Regions from separate parts of the Homo sapiens genome. Here region 1 is linked to region 2. The links are contacts of gene promoters, found by promoter capture Hi-C in blood cells and fetal thymus (Javierre and others, 2016). All regions are on one chromosome and are shown on one strand. Each heading gives the region's core, a stretch centred on a gene start or on the middle of the fragment in contact. The rest is flanking DNA. Distances are from core to core; before and after follow the strand shown. Region 1 overlaps KCMF1 (potassium channel modulatory factor 1). Region 2 holds the start of SUCLG1 (succinate-CoA ligase GDP/ADP-forming subunit alpha).

Region 1 (2,700 bases), core at 145-2,644, 530 kb before region 2:
TTCTAATATACCTCACTCCCCCTGCTAACATACGGGAGTCTTCTGTTCCAGAAACTCTGGTCTCCTCACTGTTGTCCCACCTACCTCTCTCCAACACACTGCATGTTTTCTTAGTTCTGCACTTTACCTCCTACATTCTCTCACTTGGCGGATCCCCTTCCCCCAACTCATCCTATAAAAATACGATACTTCTTCAAGTCTTGAGTTTAAATGCCACCCTAAGGAAATCTCTTCTCTGACACCCAAATAACACCTCATTCCACTTGCCAACACTACAGAACTTGTAGTAAATGAGCTGACACTTTTAATTGCCCCAGTCATACAAGGGTTATTTTATTTTAAATACTTAGACCTTATTGCTTCAGTCATACCACATACTTTAGGAGGAAAAATTCTAAGAGTTTTCTAAATGCCTCATAGTACTTATCATAATACCTTGCACATAAGGACCCAAAGTTTTAGGTTAGACATCCAAGGCCAGTGTTTTTCAATAGGAGGTGACAATCCATGAATAGAATGTGAAATCAATCTAGAAGGTCACAACTAGTATTTTGGTTTTTAATGAAGCAGAATAGAAAACAAAGTATATGTTTCAAAGTAGTGATAAGTACTATTTTGCATTACTCTTGCTTCATTACATATGTATGTGACTACTGCATCAGAATATAAAATATATTTCTGTGTTATATTTTTTTAAAAGTTTGAGAGCTGCTAATGTATGTAGATGACCTAGTTTCTAGGCCCAAGGGTTTTTTTTTTTTGAGATGGAGTCTGGCTCTGTCACCCAGGCTGGAGTGCAGTGACACAATCTCGGCTCACTGCAACCTCCGCCTTCTGGTTTCAAGCTATTCTCCTGCCTCAGTCTCCCCAGTAGCTGGGATTACAGGCACTTACTGCCACACCCAGCTAATTTTTGTATTTTTAGTAGAGACGGGGTTTCACCATGTTGGCCAGGCTGGTCTCAAACTCCTGACCTCGTGAGCCGCCTGCCTGGGCTTCCCAAAGTGCTAAGATTAGAGGCGTGAGCCACCGCGCCAGGCCAGGCCCAAGGGTTTTACATTCAAACTAGGAAGATTCACCTTCCACCAAACCCCACACCCTTCAGGAAACATCAGTTAAATAGAGTAATAGAGTAACAGGGGTCAAGAAAGACAAAGCTTAAAAGAACGGTAAATGTAGGGAAAGTTTGTAAAGAAATGTTCTTAGAGATGTTTGGGACACAAACTGAGTATGTACTTTCCACCCCCTGCCATTTAGTTAGTCAAAAAGACCTTTCTATAGAAGCAGGGCTTCCGAAATGTGTTTCTCAAAGCATTCACAGTTCAACAGTCCTCAACACAGCCTACAATGCGAGGGTGTCCAAGATCTGGCTCGAACTACGCCAACTTCACTTCCTACCCCTTTCCACCCCAATCATTGCCCTCCAGCCACATGGCCTCTGTGCTGTTCCAAGAACATTCCAATTTCAGGACCTCTACACTTGCTGTATCCTCAGTCGTATTTTTTTTTCCTTTAAATCTCTCTCATTTAACTATGGCTTTTCCTTAAATGTCCATCTTCAGATAGGCTTTTCCTGACCACCCTATCTAAAGTAGCCCATACTCTGGCCGGCCATGGTGGCTCAAGCTTGTAATCCCAACACTTTGGGAGGCTGAGGCAAGGGGATTGAGCCCAAGAGTTCGAGGCCATCCTGGGCAACATAGTGAGGCCCCAACTTCACAAAATAAATAAATAATAGAAGTTTCTTTCTTTCTTTCTTTCTTTTTGAGACAGAGTTTTACTTGCTGCCCAGGCTGGACTGGAGTGCAATGGCGCAATCTTGGCTCACCGCAACCTCTGCCTCCCGGGTTCAAGCAATTCTCCTGCCTCAGCCTCCCGAGTAGCTAGGATTATGGGCATGCGCCACCACACCCAGGTTATTTTGTATTTTTAGTAGTGACGGGGTTTCTTCATGTTGGTCAGGCTGGTCTCGAACTCCTCACCTCAGATGAGCCACCCACCTCAGCCTCCCAAAGTGCTGGGATTACAGGTGTGAGCCACCGTACCCAGCCTCTGCTAAGCTTCTTTAAATATAAAAGAAAAAAATAAATAAAAGGTCATGAAACCAGTATATGTTAAAAAATAATTTTAAGGTGAAAAAGAAATGAAAAATCTAAGTTCTTAGGACAGAAACTGAAGCAGAAATCCACAGCCAAGTGTGATGGCTCACATCTGTAATCGTAGCACTTTGGGAGGCTGAGGCGGGAAAATTGCTTGAGCTCAGGAGTTTGAGACCAGCCTTGGCAACACAGCAAGACCCCATCCCTACAAAAAATATATATAGAGTGTGGGCTACTTTATTTACTTATTTTTTCAAAGAAACTTCTATTATTTATTTACTTATTTTGTGAAGATGGGGTCTTACCATGTTGCCCAGCTTTGTCTCAAACAATCCTCCTTCCTCAGCCTCCCAAAGTGCTGGGATTACAAGCATGAGCCACCATGGCCAGCCAGAGTATGAGCTACTTTAGACAGGGTGGTCAGCAAAAGCCTAGCAGACCCTCAACGCATAAATGTGAATATGTTTTTCAACTGAGGCATTTTTTAAATGAAAATTTAGCATTTGAATTAAAATATGATGAATGTAAAATTTAAGATTTAAGACTTTGGCTGGGAATAGGGACTCACTCCTGTAATCCCAGCACTGTAGGAGACCAAGGT
Region 2 (2,700 bases), core at 90-2,589:
GTGCTGGGGATACTCCAGGATACAAAACAAACAAAAATCCCCGTCTTCATGGAAATACAAATTTTCATTAAAAGTGTACTGAAATTATATTTTTTGTCATCATGCATTTTATCAATTAAATGAAACTAAACATATAACTTATCAAGCGACAGCTCAGGAATAATTTTGCTATTTAAAATAGCAAGGGATTTTCTATTTATTTGCCATAAAAATGTCCATTTTGTTATAATGGATATATCTGGAAACCACTGATACTATTTAACTCTGAGGAATTTAGTTATCACAAGAACATGATCCATGAGGGAGGAGTTTATTTGCAGTGAAGTCCAACCTGTTAATGACAATATTTGGATCATAAAGGAAGTATTGGGCAATCTCCTGGGGTAATCCCACTCATCCATCCCACAGCTCAGTGCCAATTATAATGACTACCTAAGTAAATTAGGATTGCAATTTTATTGACAATTCTGATGAGGAATCTCAGGAGCACGATTTTCGGCAGAGACGCAGATTACTTCATCTCTTGTTTACCTTTTGACTCTGGGACTCTCTGAGGTTCCTTCTAAAGCTGTTACAGAAGAGGGAACTGTTTGTCCAATCAGGGAGCAAAGTCACATTTGACCTCGAATTTCAGCCCTTAGGATCCTCAGGGAATAAACACTCATGCACTTAGTGCTAGTCAAAGACTGCATGATTATTTAACTAAAAAAATTCACATTCCAAGAAGTTAACTGTCAGTAAGATAGGTTTTGGTCTTTCTCATCACATCTTTCCCTTCACAGGCCACCAGTGCCAGTTCGAATTCCCGTCCCCAGCGGCAACCCTTCCGGGTCCAGGCACAGGTACGCGGTGAGAAATATTATTCTCTCTAATAGCAAACGAGGAAAACGAAGGGGGAAGGAGATGGGCCTGGGATACAAAGTTCTGGCACTGCTCTTCGCACCTCACCTCGCTGTTTCTTCCCTCCTAGTCTTCAAGTCCCTTGTCTCCCCGGTCTCACTGCCGCTCTTCCCTCGCTCCCTTCCCGCCGCCTCACTCAAAAGCTACGAACCAGTCGCGGCCGTCAGACTACATTGCCCACAATGCCACGCGCTGGCCAGTCTCGCGTGGGGTTTTCCCTCAGCTGCTGTTATAATTAATGTTAATCAAACCCACATTTCTAGGAAGGAGCCGAGTTATTATCTGCCTCTCCGATAGGATGCCTCTTTGTCTTCACCTGCCATTCCCGCTGTTTCGTGAAGAATCCTCTGTAAAGGGAAATTTGTTCAGGCGACTGCTGTGGCCACCCTCTGCCTCCTCCGGCCTCTGCCCCTGGGAGGTCCCCGGGGGCCTGGGAGTGTCATTGGCGTATGACCGCAACCCTTGCCGCTGCCGCTGACATCGCTACCATGGTCTCCGGCAGCAGCGGCCTCGCCGCCGCCCGTCTCCTGTCGCGCAGCTTCCTCCGTGAGTCCAGCCAGTACTGTCTTCCTGGCGCCCGCGGGTTATTGGCCCCGCCGGACCCAACCTCCTGGCCCAGGCCGCGGCTGGGCCCTCAGGGCTGGACCTCGGCGGGGGCCTGGGAGCCGCTTGGGATTCCGGCTTCGAGTCGGGGACCCCTACGGTGGAAGGAGCTTTGCTGGATACGTGGGGCGGGGGGCATGACTTAGGCCGCTGGCAGATGGAGATATTGGGTGGCTGAGCCAGGATTCGGGTCCGGGAGCCCTGCAAATTTGGGAGCTTGCTCTCGGCCCCGCGGTGACAAATGACAGGATGGGGGTGGCGTCTAGACTGGCCTTATTTGGAGTTGGGGATGAAGAGGTCCAAGGTGAACTTGGTGGGGAAGGTAAGGGTCTGGGTTGAGAGGTAGAGGAAGAGTGTCTCAGTAGGAAGTTGGGGGATGAGGCTGTCCCTAGTACGGAAAGGTCCTGCACTTCGAATTCCCCCTCTGCAGGATTGTATGTCAGGGAAAGATGGTTTCTGCACACGGAGTGGGGTCGGCATAGCCGCATAGACTACTAGAAGCTTATGGTTGGCTGGGACCTAAACCAGCTTATTTGCAGTGTCTCCACCAGGCGATTTGTGGACACATCCGTTCCCGAAAACTTAGTACCCAAGGTTGCTAGTCTTTGAGACACGCTGACTATGGAAAATTCTTGCCATATTCAAAGTCTCTGTGCTTGTCAGGTAGGTTATAGTAGAAAGAAACTTTGGAATCAGCCACATCAGGGTTTGAAGTCTGGCTAGTCCCTTTTCAGTCTGTGTAATAACCCTGGACACTTAATCTGTTTTTCAGTGTTTCCAATCACATGAAAATATTAACACATTTTAAGGGGCCTGAAGCACCATCACTTGTAAGGTGGACCATTATTTTGTTTACCACTAACAATGAAGAACGATTGCTTATTAAAACTGTGACACACCAGTGGTTGTCACATGTATCCTGGTTTTTTAAAAAGTGAAAAAAAATGTGCATTTTAGCAATGATGATGTACAGGATGATCTGGGTTCACTGCAGAATAAGTGGAGCAATTTATATAAAGCATCTCGTATGTAACAAACACTCAAAGTTAGTTTTCTTTTTCCGCTTTGCTCTTAATTCTGCTTGTACTGAATATTTTATGAGACTTAATTCCTTTCTTGAGAAGATTACATTCTGAAAGTGTACATTGATGAGTGTGCACTCAATAGCTAACACTTAGTTGCCAATCACTTGAGGAC

What was found. Contacts are between HindIII fragments. The CHiCAGO score rates a contact against its expected background, and 5 or more counts as called.
Region 1: a contact is called between a fragment that was not itself captured here and the fragment with the promoter of SUCLG1 in region 2, in 4 of 17 cell types (naive CD8 T cells, total CD4 T cells, total B cells and 1 more). The highest score is 8.4, in naive CD8 T cells.

The regions. Positions count from the first base shown.
Region 1 is chr2:84,983,890-84,986,589 of GRCh38, reverse strand. The region is part of intron 1 of KCMF1 (potassium channel modulatory factor 1); the gene reads right to left. Among named protein-coding and RNA genes, the nearest start is that of KCMF1, 14 kb to the right of the region's middle. The HindIII fragment of the contact is 469 bases long and covers 1,160-1,628 here.
Region 2 is chr2:84,457,919-84,460,618 of GRCh38, reverse strand. SUCLG1 (succinate-CoA ligase GDP/ADP-forming subunit alpha) reads left to right here and starts at 1,339. Exons shown (of 9, transcript NM_003849.4): 1 at 1,339-1,446. The coding sequence starts at 1,350. It also overlaps a transcript of DNAH6 not described here. RefSeq lists a silencer at 793-982 and an enhancer at 1,163-1,302. The HindIII fragment of the contact is 6,917 bases long and covers 1-2,006 here.